6 separate regions of the Homo sapiens genome follow, and all the other regions are linked to region 1. Evidence: promoter capture Hi-C in 16 types of primary human blood cells and fetal thymus (Javierre and others, 2016). All regions are on one chromosome and are shown on one strand. Each heading gives the region's core, a stretch centred on a gene start or on the middle of the fragment in contact. The rest is flanking DNA. Distances are from core to core; before and after follow the strand shown. Region 1 holds the start of SPOPL (speckle type BTB/POZ protein like). Region 2 has its middle 17 kb from the start of ARHGAP15. Region 3 holds the start of KYNU (kynureninase). Region 4 overlaps LOC105373652 (a long non-coding RNA gene). Region 5 holds the start of CCNT2-AS1 (CCNT2 antisense RNA 1). Region 6 holds the start of MAP3K19 (mitogen-activated protein kinase kinase kinase 19).

Region 1 (3,889 bases), core at 885-3,384:
GGCCACCAGTCTTCTGAAGGAAGACAAGCCAAAGCTCTATCTCGAGTAGTGATTGAAGATAAAGGTCAGATGAGTATGAAGAATACCACCAGTTTTGAGTATTTAACTTACAGTACTAAAACTTTTATCTGTAAAATCTCATTTTCCAGTATGATGAATCTGTTATACACAGTACTTTCACTTTGTTTATTCTCAAAACAAAGGTAAAATTGTAGAAGTTCCAAATAGACATCTGAAATAAGGACTGACCTATCTGTAGCTTGGTAGTTAGCTGCCTTGAAAATGGTGGGCTAAAACCCTGTAGTTTTCAAATCAGAAGGAATTAATTTATACAATAACAAATTATACATGCTATCTATATCAAAAAAGGTTGTTAAATGTCAAAGAATAAGAAAGTAGCTTTCCATTCCCACCTTCCTGTCTTAGAATTAATCTACCCACAAGCCAGATCAAGTCAAACCAAGAAGTGATGATAGCATTTATCAGATATTTGCCCTGTGCCAGGTACTGTTTTAAGTACTTTACTTGTATTTACTTGTGCAATTACTAGCACCATCCTGTGATGTCATATCATAACCCCATTTTACAGCTGTAAGTATACTGAGGCGAAGAAATATTAAGTAACTTCCCCAAAGCCAAAGCTGGTAGATGGCAGAGCAAGGGTTTACACCCTGGCAACTATATACTAGTCTGAGCTCTAGAGAAGAGTTCTTAACCACTAGGCAACATTTCTCACAAGAATGATGAAATGGTAATTTGAAATATTCCACCAATCTCATCGTGGCAGGAGAGATGTAATTTTTCAAGGTATGAACCTTTTACCTCTGTCAGTTTCTAGTCCAAGAAACAGTGGATTCAATTGCAAGTGGGAAAGTGAGTACCACAATGGGTCAAACTAGGCCCAAGATTATTCAAAAATAGACAAAGCATCAGAAGCCTGGAAAGAATCACTGAATGACAGAGTTCAGTCAGGAAAGAGACAAGCGAAAGTTAGGATAAGCAGATGGTGAATCTTATTTCTACTGGGTTGTGTGACTGCTTTGAGAGAGAAAATGCTACCTTCCCTTTTCTTTTATGTTGAATCAATATACAAATACATTGACTCAAAAAGAATTAGGAAAAAGGAGAGCAGCAGGAATACAAGTGGGCTCTTTGAAGACTTGGACCCCGAACCGCGCGGTTAGCTTGATGTACTCTGGTATAAGTGAGCAAAAATGTATTAGAAAGCAGGTTAAAGAGAGGTTAAAGGCATGACCACCGGACTGGAGGTAGTGAGCGGTCTGCGAAGCTGAGAACTCTGCCTAAAATGGGCTAACAGGGACGAGAGTTTCAAGTGTCTGTATTTGGGATGAGGAGGTATGAAAGTGGACGCTGCGCGGTGGCAGAGCATGCAGTTTCTGCCTTTGGGCAGCACTCAGGTAAAAAGGGGCAGGTGTGGAGGTATACAGGTATAGAGGAGGAGAGAAGCCAGAGGAAAAGAAGGGGCGAGGCCCGGGGGTAAAACTAAAGGGGATCCTGGAAGGTGGAGGCTGGGAAATCAAGGAGGGATTGGGGGCAACCCCGGGGAAAGTGGTGCCGCCGCGCGAGGGAAGGGCGGTCCGGGGGCGTGGGAGGTAGTCCCCAGAGCAGGCCGGAGCTCGCCGCCCGAGCAGGGGTCCGGGACCCAGAGAGCAGAGGGCGCAGTGAGGCGCGAGCAGGAGGCCGCCGGTCTACGGAGAGCCGGGGGAGGGGAGCAAGCGCCTGGGGCTGCCGCGGGGACTGGGGGGAGGGGAAGGGGCGCCTACCTGGACGTGCTGGGCGGCAGCGGTCAGTCCTGGTGGAGACTCCTCTCCCGCTGAGGCGGTGGCCGTGTCCGCCCTGGGAGCCCGAGGCTGCGGTGGTGGCAGCAGGGGTGATGGCGGCAAGTCCCTGTGGCGGCCGCCTCCGCCGAACCGCATCCCTCCTCCCCGACCCGCCCTCCTTCCCTATCTCCCGCTCCTAAACTTCTTCCCCGGGATAAACAAACCCGCCGCCAGGGGCGGCCACCTCCGCCACTCCCGCCCCCGCGCAGCCCCCACCCCCCCGCCGCGGGCCCGTCTGGGCTCCGGCTTCCGAGTTACGACTCCAGCCCCGGCTCCAGCCCGCGAGGGCGCGTGCGCGCGGCGGCGGCGGCGGCGGCTCCTGGGCCCTTGCTCCCTCCTACAGCGCCGGGCACTTCCGGGCGGGCCCGGATTTGCCGCCGCGCTTGGGAAGCCGCCACCGCCGCCGCTGCTGCATGGCACTAGGCTCCCGGCGGGGCAGGTTCCGCAGCCGGCACCGCTCTGGCTAGGCGCACGGAGGCGCCTTGCTTAGTCTGACCCTTATTTGGCCAGGCGTAAAACTTGTCCTGCCTAAAAGCCTACTGAGACCTCCTAACTGGTCTAATCCGCGGGAGACGCCAAAGGCGGCGGCCGTTTGTGCGCACAGGATTTTTCTTGGAGCTGTAGCAGTCTAGGAAGCCAGGGTGGAACTTTTGCTAAGCTCCCGTTGTAAGCCCAGAGCTGTAATAACTGCTGAGACACAACCAGCAGTATACAGGCTCCAGTTGGAAATCGAGAACTTTCCAGGTAGATGAAGTGCCCCATGGAGCAGTTTTCAGGTGGAGGGGATGAGGCTCAGCTGGAAGTCTCAGGCCAGAAGGAGAGGCTGCCGAGGGGCGGCCAGGGATGCCTAGGAAGTGAGCGCAGAAGACCAGGCGGCCTCCTGGGACCGCACGGTGGGAAATAAAGCTGCACCTGCACAAATGTGTGAAGAGAGGATGGGATTGCCTTGTCTCTTCGGACATTTAGTTTAAAAAGGGGGTGACAACTGAACTTTTTATTCCCCACGGCCATGGGACAAAGATACTTAATCGAGCTACCAGGAGTAAACTTCTTTAAAGAAGTTTGGGGGACCAACAATCCCGGCTTTGCCAGAACAGACATGAACGTCATTCAAGGATCCCAACTCTTTTTGCTTTAACTGTGCATACGTCAGCAATTTTTGTTTTGTTTTGTTTTTGACAGGGCTGTCACCCAGGCTGGAGTGCAGTGGTGCCATCACAGCTCACTGCAGCCTCGACCTCCTAGGCTAAAGTGATCCTCCCAACTCAGCCTCCCGTAGCTGGGACTACAGGAATGTGCCACGCCCAGGTAATCTTAATTTTTTGTGGAGACGAGGTCTTGCTATGTGGCCCAAGCAGATCTCGAACTCCTGAGCTCAAGGGATCCTCCCACCTTGGTCTCCCAAAGTGCTGGGATTTGCAGGCGTGAACCACCACACCTGGCCATAAACCAACTTCTCATTGCTTACCTGGCTTTCCAAGAAAAGAGAGAGGGCAGAGGGAAAATATTTATTATTTTGCTATGTACTGAGTATTCTAAGCATGGACTTGTATCGTCTCTGTTCTCTCAACAACCTCTCTAAAACTTCAACGTAGAAATTTCCATCTTAAAATTAAGCGACAAGAACTAGAAATGGCAAGTAATTCATCCAGAGGTTACTGGGATTTGAATACTGGACAGGCAGATCCCCCTCATTTCAAATTAATACTACATTAGCTGTCTTTTTTATTTCTTTTTTCTTTTTGTTTGTTTGAGACAGGATCTCGCTTTGTACGCCAGGCTGGAGTGCAGTGGCGCGATCCTGGGTCACCTCCCAGATTCAAGCAATTCTGTGCCTCAGCCACCAAGTATCTGGGACTACAGGCGTGAGCCCGGCTAATTTTTGTATTTTTAGTAGAAACAGAGTCTCACCATATTGCCCAGGCTGGGCTCAAACTCCTGGCCTCAAGTGATCCTCCCACTTCTGCCTCCCAAAATGCTGGGATTAGCACCTGACCTTACGTTAGCAATCCTGTTGACTTATTTAAGACAAAACGTGCTTTAAGACA
Region 2 (3,889 bases), core at 829-3,328, 4.6 Mb before region 1:
TTATGACTTTTCTCCTTTGTACTTTTCATCACTTCAATCACTGGTCATTTCATTCTTTCTTCCAAATCTTTATGCTATATTGTCTTATTTTTTATTCTTACTTTACTCGACCTGACCTCAACTTCAATATATGAATACAACACCCAATATAGGCCTTGCCACATAATCTATATATGTGGAATAAACCAATACATTTCAAAGTTTCTATCTCTAAAGAGAATTTCTTGCTGAGTTTATCATTGACAACTTAAATTAGATGTGCATAATGTTAGTTCAGTGTTGGGTTTCAATTGTTAATTTCCTTTTAAATTGTAGGATGTAGAATTGATTATAGCAATTTTATGAACTATATTTTTCAAGGGTTTTCCACACCATTTCCTTCTTTCTAGGGGATTTCTTTCTCTCTCTCTTCCTTTTGATGTACAGGGCCATTTAAGTCCTCTATGCATTTCTGGAAAACTAAAAACTCAAATCTAAGCCTGTTGAACCTCTTGTCACACAAGTATTTGAAAGAATGATACTTAAGGGAAATAGAAAATGACACTTTTCCCCTCATCTTTTGAAGACGAAATGATCCACCCCCCTTGAATTCTACCAAAGGAGATTCCTAGCTCATTTTCCTTAGCAAGAGCTTTAAAGTGTAAAAAACTCATCAAACATCTTTTCCTCTGAGACAATGTCATCTGAGTTCAAAGGATGTACACAGCTTTGCAAAACTGCTGTCTTGTTTCAATGATAAGGCCTTGGCTTTCATTTTATGTTTGATTCCAAGAAAATCAAATCTGTTTTTATGTACACTATGACTATAACTAAATCAGAAAATTAGAAGAAATAATCTATTTCTGTAGACAGCTGGGGGCAGGGGGAAAGTTTCCAGTTTAAAAAAAAATCTGATAATGATTCTTCAGCTGAGTTACATTTTTACTCTCTAAAATATGCTTGATTATGTAAACTGAAAACATGTATTTATCCTTCCATACAATAAAAAAAAATCTATTGTGGCTCTTGGGAAACAATACTATCTTCTTACTATGCTTAACTCATTGTAAAACCTTTATTGGCTCACTGGAAGATTGAGGGCAATGTTTCTATCTCAAAAATAAAAGAAAAGAAAGAAAAAGAAAAAAAAATGTAAGTTATAGTCAAAAATAGAGCTATTTAAGCGTATGGTATTTTTTGAACTTCAGTCCTAATTATTACTGATTAATTATATCGACATAATTATTTTACAGTAGTCATGTTTGTTTATTCTACAAATATATCTTGAGCATTTACAACATATTAGGCATTCTCTCCTTTGTGTGTTGCTCTGTCCCCACTCTATCTCTTCTTTCAGTTATTAAATATGCCAAGCTCTTCCCTCCTGGAGGACATTGCTCTAGCTGTCTACTTTGCTACGGAGACTCTGCACCCCATCCTCATGCCCAGCTCCCACATTTTCCATAGCTAGTTTCTGCAAATTTCAGCTTGAAATTCTGACTGACTGTTCAACTTATTTATATAATGTCACATCTTGTTCCACATTTTCTATCTTGTCTCTCTGTTTCTTTTTCATGGTACTAAATTTTTTATTTATTTTTCTATTTATTCATTTCATTTCCTCTTCAAGAATGTGCATCCCCATTAGATCAAGTAGGTTTTTTGTATTGTCTACAATATGTATCTCCAGTATCTTCTTTAGTGCCTGGCATGTAGTAAATGCCTAATAAATAATAACTGAATTAACTGCATTTTTGGAATGCTCAAATTAGCATTACTTATAAACTGAGTTAGAAACATTACAGCTGTAAAAAGCTTTGCAAAATCTTAGCTCAATTCATTTCAATAAACACTTATGGGTATCTAGTTTTAGCGCACTTATATGTTTAAGACAATCATATAAAGATGATTGATATTTATTCTCTGTATTAGTTAGGATTGTATTCAGTTACTTACAAAAGAAAATGCAATATATCAGTGGCTTAGACACATAGGGTTTATTTTTCTTACATAATGAATCTAAAACTAGTTCGTTGCTGGCACTGATTCAGTGCCTTAGAATAGCAAGGGTCCAGGTGTTTGTGACTCTTTATCTTTGCCCTCATGATGCCAAGACAGCTGCCTTAGCTCCTGCCTTCATGTCTGAGTTCCTTGGGGGCATAAAAGGCAAATGAGCAAAACAACACTCTCTTAGTTGTTTCACTTAATAATTTTACTTTTATGTTACAGACCACTATAGGCCAGGAAAACAAAGTTCATAAATGTGGTCTTTTAAAAGCTGGGCACACTGACAGCCAAAAAGAAAATTGGGATTCCATAACATAGAAGAGCAAAATGGTTAATGGATAAGCCACTGTTTCTGGACTCCAAAATGAAAGCTTAGGTAAATTTTATATTATTAAGTTGTATTAATTTTAGGTGACCAGTATGATTTTTTTTTCTTTACAGATCACAAAATCTAGGACGATACAAAATCTAGTGAGATACTCTACCTTCAACTATAAACAAGTAAAACCTACATTATTAATGAAAAAATAGCTCTGTATGTCTAGAGTTTACATAAAAGTGTATATATAAGCATATATATATATAAGCATATATATATATATATATATATATGGATGCATGTGTATACAAAAGCACACATCAATGAGTTAAAAGAAGGTGAAATCCTGTGGTTAAGCCAAGGTCCAGTTTAAAATCATGTCATTCCTAAGTGCTCATTCTTTATTCTTAAATCAAAGTAGAGCCATCAAAAATTCGTCATACTATCTGTGTTAACAAATACCATTTTGGTGGATGGATTGTGGCTACTTTTATTATTTCACTTAATTTAGGGAGACACTTCTTGAAATATTGGCTGATACAAAGCAATGTCACAGAGTAAGAAAATGTTGCCAATACTGATAGCATTATCAATGCTGAGCCCTTCTCCAGTTTGTAGAATTAATCATAGGCATCATTCACAATTAGTAGACATTTGGCTGTCCAAACAAACTTGCTGTCTCTTCCACATCTTATTATGCAAACTTTCCTATTTGGTTTTACTGATCGGTGTCTCCATCTCCTCTCTCTCTTGTTTTATTTATTTGTATAGTACAATCCCTCTAAAAGAAGATAAATGAGACCCAAATAATAAAAAAGAATCATGCAAAACCTAAGACTGTATTATTGCAAGGTTAATGAATGAAATCACAAGGGCTATCCTGTCATCTAGCCAGCTGGAAGTTCTGGGAGATCCATCCACCCAAAGAATCCAAATTGGCGTCAGTTTCATCTGTGGTTTGGCGCCATCTTGTGGCACTTGTTTACATTAGCTTAATTAGAGATGGGGACCATGCTGCCTTTCGTGGCCACCTGGTACTTCCTGTAGGGAGGTTGTAAATTCAGAAATCTCACAGTTACATGGCTCTATAGTTAGTTGGAGACTCGGTTACTTCGATCAGCCATATATGAAGAGATTTGGGCAGAAAAAAATACTGGAAATGTAGAACACACTGTCTCCTGAGTCATGCTTCCTGTGGTTGAGTTAGCCCACTTCATGACAAAAGATTGAATAGTAGAGAACTAATGCCATTCTTTTTATATCTGAGTTTCACTTATTGCAATATTTACTATATTTAAAATGCATTTACCATTTTCTTGTGTACAGCTTACTTGAGATTATGTTTCAGATAATTTACTTCTTTCATTTAGCCCCAAAGGCAATGAACAGATCCAACAGATAAGGGTGATATACAAAATATTTAAGTACTGGTAAGGCATAGGCAATGACTGATCATTAAGAGACATTGCCCATAAACAACAACTATAGCCTTGTACCCATCCGGCTTGGTGCCAGTCCCACCAGCAGGCTATGCTGCAGATTTAGACTGGCAAAACAATAGAAGGCCAGCAGCTTGCTCTACAA
Region 3 (3,889 bases), core at 661-3,160, 4.4 Mb before region 1:
CTCACTTTATTTTTCCTTGCCTGTTGCTTCCTGATGTGTGTGTGTACGTGTGTGTATTTCTTCAGCTCATTCCCTTTTTCTTTGGCTTCTTTTTTCAGTCCTACACTTAAGCTGCAAAGGACCACAAGCTACGTATGAATTGATTTACCTTTTTAATCCATCCTTCCCAGTCCAGTTTCAGCCAGGCAAAAGTTAAAGTGGCTGGTTCCGCTCCTGGGCCTGTCACATCTGGGGTACCTTGAGATACCTGATGGGCATAGTCTTCCAAATGACTGCACCCTGCCCTACTCCACCACTTGCACAACTTCGCATGGTCTCAAATATAGTCTTTAGTTCCCAGAATAGCATAGTGCACTCACTCTAAGGATGCAATTTATTCACTCATACTAATTGCTGCTTAATTCTGCATTCACCCCAGCAGCTAAGACAATTAGTGTTCACAAGCCATAATGTTATGCCATGTTTAGTTTGCAAATAAAGTGACATGCTCATATTCTGAAAGGAAGAACTTAAATCCAAACTTTTAAAAACTTCAACTTTTACATATTTTACAAATTTTCAAATGTTACATATTTAGTGTTAATTTTATCAAGACGGGGGACATACATACCATATGGTCTCAGACAAATCACCTAACTGCTCTGTATGTCAATGTTATTTAAAGTTAAATTTTACTTTCTTCAAAGGATTATGGTTAAGCTCAAATGACATTAGGTCCTTTATAAAAAGATAAAAGATAGTTTGTAATATTTTTTTAAATTATCAATACCTTCTGATGGACAGCATCAATGTGCCTTCGATTTAGGTTTGGAAATTGTGCTTTCACAATTTTATTTAGACAGCTACAACTTTAAAGTAAAAAGCTTGTATAATAATTAAAAACTGATTGATTTTAACGAAATCACAGAATTCAGAATCTCCTAGTCACCCACTGATTTAGGGCTAAATAGTTAAATAAATGACTGAGTGTCTGGTAGTTAATCTTTACACAGTTTCACATTCATGCCTGAAATAAGCAAATTGTACATAGGAGTTCAAAGTTTAGAACCTGACTTAAAAATATGTTGAGAAAGCGTGTAGTTTTTCATTAGTAAAGAAAAAAGGAAAAACAATATGCATATTGAGCAAGATTCTTTAAGCATATCATTGAGAAATGGGTAACATTACTCTGCTACGAGTGTATATTTCATATCTAGGATATGAATTACTTGCTGAACACGTTAAGAAAATCAATACATTTGCTTCAGTGTTACTACTAAATAACACCCCACTGGCCTCAAAATAAAAGCAGAAAGGAAAAAAGAAAATCTAGTATATTTTTAAAAAGTGTATCAACTTTCTTTTCTTAGGTTTCATAAAATGAAAGGGGAAGAAACTCTGTTCAAGAGTAGGCATTTTCACTTCTCTAAATAAATATTTAATATGACTACTAGCAGCATAAGACAATTAAAGTTACCAGAAAACAGAGGACTTAAAATCTGTTTAAGAATATCTTTCCCTCGTCTGGAGTTTGACCTAATCTTACCGCTTAAACTCAAATAAGAACAGGACTAACTTTGGTTTGTCAAATGTAACCATATTCAGTGCACTATGTTCATCAGTTCTTTTCTATTACATTAGTAAAGATCTTTTCATTTAACCCATTTCTAAAGGTGGGGCCTTTAGGAAGGTCATACCATTTTTATTTACAAAAAGAATATATATAAAAAAAGAAGAGAGTAGCAGAAAAAAACCTCTAAAACACTATGACAAGGATTCTAGCTGACAGAAGTTTCATTTGGAAAAAACATGGAGTAAACATTAGGGTAGAGAGTTTTTATCAGCGCCTCAAGCTTACCAGCTAGGATCCCAATGGAGTGTTTGGCTCCCAGAATCTCTCCAAGAACCTCTCAAGAATTCCTTGAAAATGTACAGGCCAGATCTTAGGGTGAGAAATTCAAAGAACTGCTCAGACTCCACCCAGTGGAGAATTTATAAATATTTTACTTTACTTCCTCTCCCCTAACCAATCGGTAATCTCCAGCCACTGTCAGAAATTTAAGCAACATGTGCTCCTGCCCACCATTTCAAATGCCAGAGCCTCCAGTGAGGGCTTCTTTCCAGAGGCAACTTTGCTCTTTAAACTCAGGTAAACACACACTTGTCCTTTAACTATATAAATCTCTGACCCCTGAACTGATGAGTTGGTCTTAGAGCTAAATTCCAAATTTTGCCTTTCTTCTTCACTTTGAGCTCTGGATTTTTGAGACAATACCCTCCTTCAAATACACTGAGGATTTTCAGTCTGATGGTTGAATCTATGACATTTAATGGGTAAACTTTTTAGTCAAAAGTTTAAAATAGGCTCTCAATTCCAGAATACACTCTATTGCCTAATATGTGAGTTTTCAAAAACTCCTAGGTAATAAATCTGGACAGTTAACAAGACAATGAAGGAAGAAAGATCTGAAGATTCAAGTGGAAACTAGCCTGGCAAACTTCATTAATGCAAATTATTCATTTAAGTCTGTGAATTGTCTTTTGTTCTAGTCTGACTACCTCTTTAGGCTTATTCCTGAGCTTGGGTCTTTTGATGAATATCCTTGTAGTTATAAAAACTAAGAGCAAAGACTTTCGATATTAGGACTAGGGATGAAGAATGTGCTTGAATAATTGAATGACTTATGCACACCTATGCTTTATTTAGTAACCCACAACAAATCAAGTAAAGTGTCATTTAATCATTTCTATCAAGTGTTCATTGTATAACCCTGAGCAATTCACTTAACCCTTGTGGAGGCTCAGTCTCCTATTTATCAAATGAACTTAATAATACCTTCCTCCCAAGATTACTGAAACGATAAAACCATGCAGGTTGAAGGCCATAGATACCATGACACTCAAGTCAAAAGTGACATATTGTCTTTTTTTTAATCTTAAGTAACCAGACAAAAAGTACTACTCTCCAGTTTCCAAGAGAGGGAGATAAAGTGCATGAAATTGCTTTAATACGAGTAATTGACCAGTGAAAATAAAATATATTTCACTTCATTGATCCTATCCTTACAATAATCCTATAAAGTAAGTAGACTACCAATTGATTAACTTAGAATAGTAAAAGTTTGAATCCATTCAGGAAATTTCAGAAGGTGTACTTTTTTTGCATCTATTCTGTGTATGCCTCATGCTGTAAAAACTTTGGAAGATTACCAGGCTCTAATATATGGGGAGCGAACCAGAGGGCGGATCTGTGTCATTTTTGTGTCACTCTTTTAAAGACTGACTATAGATTTAGAGAGCTAGATATGGACATTAAGGTTTTGTTTTCACAAGATCTTGCTTCTTCTAAAATCTTGTAATAATATGATTAAAAATTTCATCAAAATATTATCTTAAAAACTACTGTTTAACTTGTCACCTTTAAAGAACTTGCTTGGAGGTCTAAGCTATACTTCTATTTCTTATGTTTTATAAATTTCTTTCTTTCTTTAAATTTGTTACATTTGAGGAATAAAAATAAAATCCCAAGCCCCTAGATTAACTGAACGGACACGCTCTTGGCCAAGGGGATCCCAGAGTAAACTTGAAAACTAAGTTTTTGGCCATGACAGGATAGGAAGTGGAACACATACCCGCTCCATCACTAACTATGATTAGGCTTTCTGCCCTATGGCTAAAAAGAAACCAGTCATTTCAAAAGATTACACCAATGACATCAACCATCACCTGGTGTTATCCCTCTCTTTTGTGGTTTGGAACAAAAAGAAAATACTGATCATGGAATGTTTCTGGCTAGTCTATGGAGAATGTGCAGTAAAGGTTTTCATGTCCTCTGCTTCACATTGGGCTGAAAACTGCCCCCTCAGATTGTATTAATGCTGTCATTTTTTGAACACGGATCCCATGGAGA
Region 4 (3,889 bases), core at 853-3,352, 4.4 Mb before region 1:
AATTATGAGTACACTTACAGTGCCCATTGAATTAAGAGGGTTAGCTCAGTTTGGAAAACCCTAGCATATGTATAATTTCTAAATCTGTAATATCTAGTAATCTACTTGATAAATTAATTGAATTTATTGATTAATGCAATAAAAGTCCATAGCTGATCTGAAATCTTTCAAGAAAAGTAATTATTTTATATTTATATTTACTCTATTAGATCTCCAGAGAACATGATTAGAATTGAGCCCTTCAAAATATTCTGAAATTACATCCTCATGGAATGGCAAGATGTAATAATTGTTCTGCCTGGGGAAGTCAGAGAGGGTTCCAGAGCAGAGTATACACACATGAACCTACTCCCTCTCGTTTACTTACTGCAGACATTGCGAATAAAGCTCGCACTTCACTCTTTTCCTCTGTTTCTAGATGTGGTCTTTCATTTCCTCGGCAGAATACTCCTGGCATGATCTTTAAGGAATGAAATGTTGTCTACCAACCTCGGCTGAGTGTACACAGTTCTGGGAAAAGGTGCATCTTAGACTAATCTGATTTAGTAAGTGAATATAAAATGCTCCCCAGGACACCTTGCTAGTAAAGACTCCAACTAAGATTAGAGTATGAATTAATAGAGCCAAGAATGGACATTGGAGTGGGAATTTACCAACTAGCAATTTACTTTAATGATTATTTCCTGATAACTTCTGAAATATTTTTAATGTTTAGAGAATTTGTTTAGCAACTGAAAGGAAAACTTTCTACTAAAAAATATGCCATGCACATTTAAAAACATTCCAATTGCTCCACTGTCTTTCATATCTATCTCTGTTTGCTAATATCTATAATGCAAATTTTAGAAAACACATCTTGACTCATCAATTTATGAATTATTTTACTCCCTATCATGATATTAGCAGTACATTTTTTTTCCTTTCCCTTCTAGGCTTGTTTTTCTTCAGGAAAGGAAATCAGATACAACATAGACGTTGTGTTTCACGATGTCTTTTTCAAAATATTTTGACAACCTGGGTAATAAACCCTGCAGGAAGGGCTAGAGTAGAGTAATGATGATGAAAGTGTCACAGTTTTGAAAATATAAACATATAGATTTAATGGGTACTTTTGTGAATCCCTTTGTCATCGGCAGGTCAGGTACCTGATGCAGAAAGGGAGGTCAGATTTAAGGACAGGGTCTCTTTCCCACACAGGCAGGAGTGCCCGGCTAATGTGGGTTCAAGAACAGAGTAAGGCTCCTGATTTCCCAGCACATCTTTGTCTATCACTGTAGTCTACATGCTAAGCTTAAGGTGTCTAGCCTAAGATTTTATATGCTACTGGAAAACCACTTAGTTTAAATCTAGATTAAACTTAAATTTCCTAAATTTATACATATATCTAGGTACAACAAAATATCAATTCAATTTGAAAAGAGACACTTCTCAAAAGAAGACATTTATGCAGCCAAAAGACACATGAAAAAATGCTCATCATCACTGGCCATCAGAGAAATGCAAATCAAAACCACAATGAGATACCATCTCACACCAGTTAGAATGGCAATCATTAAAAAGTCAGGAAACAACAGGTGCTGGAGAGGATGTGGAGAAATAGGAAGACTTTTACACTGTTAGTGGGACTGTAAAGTAGTTCAACCATTGTGGAAGTCAGTATGGCGATTCCTCAGGGATCTAGAACTAGAAATACCATTTGACCCAGCCATCCCATTACTGGGTATATGCCCAAAGAATTATAAATCATGCTGCTATAAAGACACATGGAGATGTATGTTTATTGCGGCACTATTCACAATAGCAAAGACTTGGAACCAAGCCAAATGTCCAACAATGATAGACTGGATTAAGAAAATGTGGCACATATACACCATGGAATACTATGCAGTCATAAAAAATGATGAGTTCATGTCCTTTGTAGGGCCATAGATGAAGCCGGAAACCCTCATTCTCAGCAAACTATTGCAAGGACAAAAAACCAAACACCGCATGTTCTCACTCATAGGTGGGAATTGAACAATGAGAACACATGGACACAGGAAGGGGAACATCACACACTGGGGCCTGTTGTGGGGTGGGGGGAGGGGGGAGGGATAGCATTTGGAGATATACCTAATGTTAAATGACGAGTTAATGGGTGCAGCACACCAACATGGCACATGTATACATATGTAACTAACCTGCACATTGTGCACATGTACCCTTAACCTTAAAGTATATATAAAAAAGAAAGAGGCTTAATAAATCCCTGGTGGTATTGAACCCTCACTATGTGTCAGATGTTGTATTAGTGTTTCACATTCATTATCTCATTTAATCCTTAGAGGCAAAAAAAAGAAAGAGTTATAGGTATGATTATTTCTACTTTACAAATCAGAAAACTGAAGTAGAGATATAATAGGCCCAGTTAATAGGAAAGTGACAGATTAGGAAAAAATTTATATCTAGAATATTTAAGAAGCTCCTCGGGAAGAAAGAAGACACAATAGAAAAATGACCAAGGAATTAAAATAAGCAATTCCCAAAGGGAAAACCTGAATGGCTAATGCATTTTTAAAGAGATGGGCACTTTAGAAATCAGAGAAGTGCATGTTAAAGGCATGCTGAAATATTTTAATATATGAATCATGTTGTTAACAATTAAAAATTTAGATAATATTTACAGCTGGAAAGAATGTGGAAAAGTAGGAAGTCCACTTTGCACTCTGTTCCAGTACAGCCATTATAAATAGCTTTATTCAGTTTATTGACACTAAATAGGAACATACCCAATGTCCCAGCAATTTTACTCCTGGGTATATATCTGTATTGTTTTTTTCCCACATCAGTTATTTAAAGTGTCTCACCAGACCTCCTTGAGGCTTTTAAGGCTTTTTGCACCAACCTAATATCTAAAGAATGCAGGCAAGCTTTGGAAATCCAAGAGATACCTACAGCATGAGCTCTTGGGGGTCTTATCTTTGAGCTCTAGGACTGAGCTGAGTCTCTGATTCAAATTTCCAGGATCTGTGCTAGGAATTTTGTCTTTGGAAGAGCTCCCCTCAAAAGCTCTCAGTGCCTCCTTAAATAGTAAAATCAGGCTTATCCAATGGGTTAAGACAAAGTCAACAATAAAGAAGCTAACTTTGGGCTTGGCGTGGTGGTGCATTCCTGTAATGCCAACACTTTGAGAGGCCAAGGCAGGCAGATTGCTTGAGTCCAGGAGTTCAAGACCAGCCTGGGCAACACTGCAAAATGCCATCTCTACAAAAAATAAAAAAAATTAGCTGGACGTTGTGGTGCATGCCCATAGTCTCAGCTAGTGCAGAGACTGAGGTGGACGGATTGCTTGAGCCTGAGAGGTCGAGGTTGCAGTGAGCTGAGATCCTACCACTGCACACCAGCCTGAGTGACAGAGTGAAAGGAAGATAACTTTGGGTATCTAGGAAAGTTTCAAACCCTGAACAGAATATCATGAATTCCATTGCCCCTTCCTTGGCAAAGGTTCAAAAACCAGTCTTCTAGGCACCTCCAGAGATACAGATAGAGCTCTTCCTGTCCAGCTGGAAATCAGCCCTATCTGTACTGGATCCCGCAGAAACACTTCTTCACTTACAAAGAGAAATGTGGGCTATTGTCCATATAAGCATGTTTTCCATAACAAAGATTAGAAATGTTAAACATAAGAAAATGAAGAGACACAATATGTGATATGCATATGATGGAATACTATAGAACAGTAGAAAGAATAATATCTATCTATATCGACAGAGATATCAAAAGTAAAATATTCAGTAAAAACCACAATCATGACATTTTCATGATACGTAGTATATAATGCAATTTTGATCATAAAACATACAAGCATATACTATATATTATTCAAAAATCCCCATGGGTATAAATAATG
Region 5 (3,889 bases), core at 834-3,333, 3.6 Mb after region 1:
CAGAATTAAAGCAGAGTTAAACATTTCTAAACAATATGCAATTTTCTTTAACACACACAACACAGTATGCGTGTTACTCAACATACACCAAACTCGTATCTTTCATAAATGAAATTAACATTTCAACAAAATGCCATTACTCTATTTGTCAAGGTTTACAGGTTATATACCTTAATATTCAGGTGTAAATTTTACTAATAATACATAAACATACTCCTGACGTACTATATCTGAAGCAAGAGTGGACGTTTGAATCACCCAAAATTTTAGGAGACAACTGATGCTAACGTGATAAACAGAAACGTTGACATCTTAAGAAATTACTAGGTTAGCAAATGAAGAAATGAATTATTTCTACTAAATAGCTCTTTCAAAAGAATGTCATAATTAATTTAATCTCAATTGACAGTCTTTTAAACAATGAGTCCAACATAATTAAGATGTATCACAGAACGACCAGGCTTGCCCAATTCCACTGTACATCACTACTGAAATTATTCAAATGTTAAGTATAGAATTTAAATGAAGAAAACCTATGTAATAACTCTGTAAAGAAATAAATGTTTTTCTTTTTTAGCTTAAAAGGCCTGGCAGAGCTTAACAGTGCCTTGCAGTTTAATTCATCATAAATTTTAAAAACACAAAAACACCGCATCTGAAGCAAAATATTTATCACGTGATATACGTTTACCGTTAATTCAGAACACTAAATCCAACAACGCAATGACCAACTTTTTTTCTGCGTATCGATTTACCCTCAAATTTGCGGACAGTAAAAACAGACAACTAGTACTTACATTTTTGTTGAATTTGGTGAAAGAATGGTGCATATAAAACCTGTGCATATAAACAATCGCAGTGTTTATTGTAAGCTGAGAGCTGGAACGTAATATTTAGGAAATATCTGACAAAAGCAAGATCTCATTCCCAGAACAATTTTGATGGAAAATTCCCAGGTTCTTTTCCAATACCTCCCATTCAAATCCAAACCCCAAACTGGAAATAAAGAAATAAATGCCCGCGGGGGGTGGGGCGGCAGGAAGAGAATAGGCTTGACGCCAAATAAATGGGAATAAGAACTGCTGATCTTTTCACTCTAACAGCGCTGAGGGCCCTGGAACTATTTATCAATGGCTACGACTAACTAAACTCAAAATGAAACAGTTGAAACGCGCGCGCACACACCCATACAAAACCACGCCAAGAACATAAAGAACTCCAGTACGCTCCCAAGGTAGAAGAGAGCCGCCATCAAGCCGGCGACGAGAGCCGGGAAAGGCTGCGGCAAACACTTAGGCCTTTCAGCATCGCTAACCCTCCTACCTCTCAAACCCTTCGGGGTCAGGGACAAGTCCAGGGAGCCGCCCCTTTTCTGCAATAATCCCTAAAATTCCTCTTTCGCCTGAGCCACACTCCCAACCCCCGCCGCCACCACCACGCGCTGCCCCAAACAGATTACACAACGCAGGCTCCTGGCCCGCATTCCTGGGGTCCTATCTCCTCCTCCCTTCCTCTGCTGACCCCTCGCGACTGCCCGAGCCGGAACATTACTTCCCTGACCGCGGCGCCGAGGCCCAGCGAAGGCCGAGGCCGGCGGCGCCATGTTCGCGGGGCACCAGGCCCGGCGACCGGGCAAGGGAAACAGGGCGTGAGCGGCGGCGAACAGAAAAGGATACACATTGAGACGCTGTCCCATCTCCTGGATGAGGTTGGCCGCCTGCTGGCGGCACGAGAGCTCTTTATCCGCCTCCACTCCGCAGCGGCGGCTCGGCGTGTTCTCCAGCTGTTCCCGAGTAAAGAACCAGCGAGAAGAAGCTCCACGGCCCGACGCCATGACACTTCCTCCTCCGCCCGCTCCTTCATTCACCCCCCGCCCCTCCTGGCTCGCGGACTCCCCGCCAAGGCGCGCGACCCCGCCCCACTCCGCTCGCCGTAGACCACGCACCACCCTTTTTCACCACCGCCTCCGCCCTTGCGCATGCGCGGGGCCCGCTCTACCGACTCGCCCTAGTCTTTTGCTTTCTTTTTCTGCCCTCGGCCTCGCTCTTGCGCACGGGACCACAATGCTCCGCGCCGCTTGTCATTGGGAGGCGCCGAAGGTGGAGAGGTCGGCTCGGAAGGAAAAGGTCGGCGCAGCGCATGCCGGGTCTAGGGTTGGCGGGGCGAAGGGGTGGGGAGGGAAGGGGCGGGGAGGGGAGGGGAGGGGAAAGTGGGAGAGGGTGGACTCTGGCCGGTGTGAAGAGAGGCGGTCGGGCGGCTGCGCTGTGGGGGCCTGGGCGTGTACTTCGGAGGCCCGTCGGGCGCTTCCTTTAGACGGGAGGTCTAGCGGCCCTTTAAAAAGAGAAAAATAACCTTCACTGTCGCAGCCTCACGCCACTACTTCCATTTTCCTTTTGGGCGGGTCCGCGCAGTCTCGTAGGCGTGCGACTCCGGCCTCCGCCACCAACAGTCTCCGCCTAGCGCGCGGCTCTGGCGTTGAGCTGGCGGGGAAAGAGTGCACAGGAAGTCACGCTCCATGGCTGTCCGCACCTGAGTGCTTTTTTCACCCTACATTATCTTGTTTAAATCCCAGACCACTTGGTTTATTTTTATTTTTTCAAATTACTTGGCAAACGCTATCCAACTAGCAACGAGAAATTGAATTTCTAAATGAGGTGTTGAATCTAGACGGGGCGTGTTTTCAGGCTGCGCTGTGGTTTCTGCGAGACAAGGTTGGGGAGAATCAGATAGTGCAGGAGGAACTGAGTTAAAATTTTATCTTTAGGATTTGATGTGGGAACATCCCACATACCTGTTGATTAACTCCTGTATTTCTTCCTGTAAGAAAATGCCACTGAGCTTCACTCGGAGTTTGTGTTGTGAATAGGGTTTCTAAGTTTAAAGTCTTAACTATTTGGAGGCCGGGCACGGTGGCTCACGCCTGTAATCTCAGCACTTGGGGAGGTCCAGTGGGCCGATCACTTGAGGTCAGGAGTTCGAGGGCAAGGGCAACATGGCGATACCCCGTCTCTACCAAAAATACAAAAATTAGCCAGGTTTGGTGGCGCGCCTGTAGTCCCAGCTACTCCCGAGGCTGAAGTGGGAGGATGGCTTGAGCCCAGGAGGTGGAGGCTGCGGTGAGCTAGATCTCGCTGCTGCACCCCAGCTTGGGCGATAGTGCAAGACCTTGTCTCGAAAATAAAAAATAAAGTAATATCTATTTGCCAAAGACCATGGAGGCAAGTGATTGTTATGGGGCTCCCACGCTCAGCATACTGCATTGCACAAGAATATTGATTATAGTAGGCAGTTTTTGTAACAGTTGCTATTTCATACTCACTTCCCTTGCTTTACGTTTTATGTTGCTTACAATTTCTGGAATAGATTGATTTAAAGCAACATTTTAAAAGTGCAAACCCTTGGCCAGGTGCAGTGTTTCCCGGCTGTAATCCCAGCACTTTGGGAGGCCAAAGTGTTCTAGACCAGCCTGGGCAACATAATGAGACCCCACCTCTACAAAAGTTTTTTAAAAAATTAGCTGGATGTGGTGGCGTCTGTAGTCCTAGCTCCTTGGGAGTATCGCTTCAACCTGAGAGGTGAGGTTGCACCCCAGCCTGGGTGACAGAGTGAGATCCTGTCACACACACACACAAATAAAAGAAGTGCCCATCCTCAACATCCATTCATGATAAAAACTCAGCAAACTGGGAATAAAGGAGAACTTCCTCAACTTGATAAAGAGCATCTACAAAAATTCTGCAGCTAACAATAGATTGTTTCTGTTGTGAGAAACTACATTCTTTCCACCTAAAGTCTGACACAAGGCAAGCATGTCCCCTCTCACCAGTCTTTTCAACGTGGTACTGGGTGTTCTAGCTAACAAGAAAAGTAAATTAAAAGTATATACATA
Region 6 (3,889 bases), core at 720-3,219, 3.5 Mb after region 1:
TGTTGCTCAGGCTGGTCTCAAACAACTAAGCTCAAGCAATCCTCCTACCTTGGCCTCCCAAAGTGCTGGGATTACAGGCGTGAGCCACTGCGCATAGCCAGAAGATTACATTTTTTGGGGGGGGTGGGAACGGAGTCTTGCTCACTCTGTCACCCAGGCTGGAGTGCAGTGGCACAATCCCGACTCACTGTAACCTCCGCCTCCTGGGTTCAAAGCAATTCTGCCTCAGCCTCCCGAGTAGCTGGGATTACAGGCACTAGCCACCACACCCGGCTAATTTTTTTTTTTGAGATGGAGTCTTGCTCAGTCGCCCAGGCTGGAGTGCAGTGGTGCGATCTCGGCTCACTGCAAGCTCCGCCTCCCAGGTTCACGCCATTATCCTGACTCAGCCTCCCGAGTAGCTGGGACTACAGGCGCCTGCCACCACACCCGGTTATTTTTTTTGTATTTTCAGTAGAGACGGGGTTTCACCGTGTTAGCCAAGATGGTCTCGAACTCCTGACCTCGTGATCCACCCACCTCAGCCTCCCAAAGTGCTGGGATTACAGGTGTGAGCCACCACGCCTGGCCTAATTTTTTTATTTTTGGTAGAGATGGGGTTTCACCATGTTGGCCAGGCTGGTCTGGAACTCCTGACCTAAGGTGATCCACCCACCTCAACCTCCCAGAGTGCTAGGATTACAGGTGTGAGCCACCACATCTGGCCAGGATTACTTTTTGAGAAGCCAATTTAAAGATTCATGGATTGCAGACAAGCTGGAACCCTAGGATAACCTGGCAGAAATCCTAAAAGTCAGAAACTACGGTACTTGCACCTTCCTCTGTTAGGCTGAGAGAGTACTCACCTTGATGGGAGTAGAAGCAAAGTAGAGCATAGGAAGCAAAACAGAGTAATAGCCTGTGTGTGCTTAAATTGGTGTCAAGCAGCTTGAAGTTGAATTGGTAATGAGGGAGTTTACGTAGATCTAACAATCTCTGAATGGTTTTTACCCTGAAGTCTTCATCCACTAAAGGAGAGAGAGAGAGAGAGAGAGAGAGAGAGTGTGTGTGTGTGTGTGTGTGTGTACGTGCTTGCGCATGGTAAAGGTAGTATTGCAACATTGTGGCCAGGCCGCTTAGGTTCAATCCCTAGCTCCACCATTCATTAGCTCAAAAGTTCTAAGCCTCAGTGTCATCTTCTGTAACGTGGCAATGATGCTGTTTATTGTTTCAACTCCATAGAGTTGTTATGAGGGTTAAATGACATTAATCATGTCCTTTATGGACTAACGTAGGAACTAGTCAATAAATGTCAGCTGTTGTTATTGCGATAGAATATCGTACCCCATTCAGTTGAGAATATATAATGTTACGCCCTACCTTAGAAGAGAAACCCCTGCATCCTTTGGTAAGTGGCAGAAAAGAATTTAGCAGCACACAAATGCCGGGTGACCTTATGGAGTGCCCTGTGTCCACTTCCTCATGATTATGTTTTCATAGTCCATGATTTGAAGTCTTTTGCAGTTGGGTTTATTACCACTGGACTCAGACAAAAATGCAGTCTGTTTACTGAAGCTTTTGCTTCAGAATATCACAAGCATATCTAGAGAAGAAGTATGTTGTAATGTAAGGATTTCTGTCTGCTAGCGCTTTCTCAAGGCTGAGTCTAAGAATGCAATCAGTTTGGTGGTAATCGATTGGATTCTCACTCTGTGACCTATATGCAGCTTTGAAAGGGGCCCTTCTGGCACCTTGTGGGGATTACAAAGGCATGGATCTCTTAGAGAAAGTCTCAGTGCATCAGGTGATCACAGTAATTGTGCCAACCATGGAAGTACATAGGGGTTTGGTAGTTTTAAAGCACTTAAGCAACAACTTGGAAGAGCATACAAAACTTGTTTTCCTTCCTGGATGAGACTGTCCTGCTTTCAATTCTCTAAGCTAAATGCACAGTGGATGGTTGCCTAGGAGACAACCTGTAAACTAAGCAGTCTATTTGCAGCTAACTAAAGGGTTTGTGCATGCAGGACCAGCTTAATTAAAGACAAAATTTAAAAGGAAAAATTATTTGGGCTGTACAACACTGAAAAAAAAATCTGAATCTATGCTGTTTTTAAATGGATCCCTGGTTGAAGTGTGGGTTACAGCTGTCCCAGAAATCAGTGCCACAATGAATTAGGATGATGTTGGCTACTGTTTGGCTTGGTGTTTCTTCAACTGTGTGCCACGTCCCTCAGCAAAACACAGCACAGGTAAGCCGAATCTCTGCTTTTCATCTCATTTTAGATAAACTGTATGTTGCAACTTTTTTACTCCCCAAAGGATGTCCCAGAGGAGGAATGCCTGGTAAACTGATAGAAGAAACTGTGTCCTAATCTCAAATAATAATATCCTTGGAGTTGTAATAAACTATTTTTTACTTTTCAAATATTGTGACGATTTCCTCCAATACTTATGCAGGCACCTCTAGACCATAGGCTAAATTACTAATGACAAGAAAAGTGTATGAAAAACACTTGCCTTCATTGAATTATACCTAGGGGTAATCTTTTAGTTTAATCACCCAAATATGTGTAAACTTTACATGGTATGAATCTTCTTGTAACCAATCAATATTGTATACATATGTTCTTAACCATGCTTTCTCAACATGAAATGAGATTTCTGTTGCTTTAAATCTTTATTGCATAAGGTTCTAAATCAAATGTACACTATAACAAAAGGTTTTGGTTTTACAAATAGATAAACCATGCATGCAATTAAAAATAAAAAAGACTGGGTTTTAATAGATGCTAAACTAAAAACCTCTGTGGAATGAAACACTATTCCTCAAAAATCATTGACCAAAACAGTTCTAAATGGGGCGGGCATGGTGGCTCATGCCCGTAATCCTAGCACTTTGGGAGGCCAAGGAGGGTGGATGACCTGAGGTCAGGAGTTCGAGACCAGCCTGCCCAACATGGTGAAACCCTGTCTCTACTAAAATACAAAAATTAGCCGGCAAGGTGGCAGGTGCCTGTAATCCCAGCTACTTGGGAGGCTGAGGCAGGAGAATTGTTTGAACCTAGGAGGCGGAGGTTGCAGTGAACCGAGATTGTGCCACTGTACTCCAGTCTGGGCGATAGAGGGAGACTCTGTAACAACAACAACAACAACAATAACAACAACAATTCTAAATGGAAAATTGAGAAATATTTTCTTATGAAAAAAACCTAAAATGGACATGTACAGATTGAAGGTTGGAAGAGGAAATAGAGCTCAATAATAAAAAGCACTGTGGGTTTGTGACTAAGCCTGGGCAACATAGTGAGACTCTGTCTCTACAAAAATAAAACATAAAAATAACTAGCGGGGCATAGTGCTGTGCACCTGTAGCCCTAGTTATCTGGGAGGCTGAGGTGGGAGGATCCCTTAAACCTAGGAGTTTGAGGCTGCAGTGAGCTATGATCAAGCTGCTGTACTCCAGCCTGGATGAGAGAGTGAGACCCCATCTCTAATAAAAATAATTTTTAAAAGCCATGGTCTGTGCATGTTAACTAAAAGAATGACCTGCATATAGGGATAATGCTATGTGCTCATTCCATCTTCATTGTCTTCCTCCAGTCTCTATTGAGTATGTGAGACAATAAATGGCCAAATAATGACCACATTACCCGGTATTGCAGTGATTTGATTTGATAATTTTGGGATTGTAGTTTAGTTAAATCTAAATTTTTTTGTTTTATTTTAGATGATAGATACTACTTATGAAATGCTCTCCCTTAAGGGTCACATTAAAAAGTTAAATTACAACTCCATAACATTGCTAGGTAATAACCTTGGGGGAAAAATGTTTGAAGTTTTATTAGTACTTTATGAATAAAGTGTGATATAAATATCTATTTCTTGCCTAGTTGTTATTTGAATATCT

The links. Contacts are between HindIII fragments. The CHiCAGO score rates a contact against its expected background, and 5 or more counts as called.
Region 2: a fragment that was not itself captured here is called in contact with the fragment with the promoter of SPOPL in region 1 in 1 of 17 cell types (naive B cells); the score reaches 6.4 in naive B cells.
Region 3: the fragment with the promoter of KYNU here is called in contact with the fragment with the promoter of SPOPL in region 1 in 3 of 17 cell types (total B cells, M1 macrophages and M0 macrophages); the score reaches 12.3 in total B cells.
Region 4: a contact is called between a fragment that was not itself captured here and the fragment with the promoter of SPOPL in region 1, in 2 of 17 cell types (total B cells and M0 macrophages). The highest score is 9.7, in total B cells.
Region 5: a contact is called between the fragment with the promoter of CCNT2-AS1 here and the fragment with the promoter of SPOPL in region 1, in 6 of 17 cell types (total B cells, non-activated CD4 T cells, total CD4 T cells and 3 more). The highest score is 11.3, in total B cells.
Region 6: a contact is called between the fragment with the promoter of MAP3K19 here and the fragment with the promoter of SPOPL in region 1, in 1 of 17 cell types (total B cells). The highest score is 8.6, in total B cells.

The regions. Positions count from the first base shown.
Region 1 is chr2:138,500,015-138,503,903 of GRCh38, reverse strand. SPOPL (speckle type BTB/POZ protein like) reads right to left here and starts at 2,134. Exons shown (of 11, transcript NM_001001664.3): 1 at 1,785-2,134. SPOPL-DT (SPOPL divergent transcript) reads left to right here and starts at 2,209. Exons shown (of 2, transcript NR_187149.1): 1 at 2,209-2,585; 2 at 3,024-3,889. RefSeq lists silencers at 1,449-1,498, 1,699-2,238. The HindIII fragment of the contact is 5,215 bases long and covers 1-3,889 here.
Region 2 is chr2:143,110,424-143,114,312 of GRCh38, reverse strand. No RefSeq gene overlaps it. Among named protein-coding and RNA genes, the nearest start is that of ARHGAP15, 17 kb to the left of the region's middle. The HindIII fragment of the contact is 563 bases long and covers 1,797-2,359 here.
Region 3 is chr2:142,875,685-142,879,573 of GRCh38, reverse strand. KYNU (kynureninase) reads right to left here and starts at 1,910. Exons shown (of 14, transcript NM_003937.3): 1 at 1,838-1,910. The HindIII fragment of the contact is 4,288 bases long and covers 1,835-3,889 here.
Region 4 is chr2:142,859,628-142,863,516 of GRCh38, reverse strand. It overlaps LOC105373652 (a long non-coding RNA gene), which reads left to right. Exons shown (of 5, transcript XR_923389.3): 5 at 419-652. Among named protein-coding and RNA genes, the nearest start is that of KYNU, 16 kb to the left of the region's middle. The HindIII fragment of the contact is 1,619 bases long and covers 1,293-2,911 here.
Region 5 is chr2:134,916,800-134,920,688 of GRCh38, reverse strand. It overlaps CCNT2-AS1 (CCNT2 antisense RNA 1), which reads left to right and starts at 2,083. Exons shown (of 5, transcript NR_036549.1): 1 at 2,083-2,126. CCNT2 (cyclin T2) reads right to left here and starts at 1,867. Exons shown (of 9, transcript NM_058241.3): 1 at 1,677-1,867; 2 at 798-879. The coding sequence starts at 1,834. RefSeq lists enhancers at 1,268-1,357, 1,568-1,837, 1,988-2,147, 2,225-2,898, 2,908-2,957 and a silencer at 2,158-2,227. The HindIII fragment of the contact is 7,926 bases long and covers 1-3,889 here.
Region 6 is chr2:135,045,527-135,049,415 of GRCh38, reverse strand. It overlaps MAP3K19 (mitogen-activated protein kinase kinase kinase 19), which reads left to right and starts at 1,969. Exons shown (of 13, transcript NM_025052.5): 1 at 1,969-2,231. The HindIII fragment of the contact is 2,914 bases long and covers 1,557-3,889 here.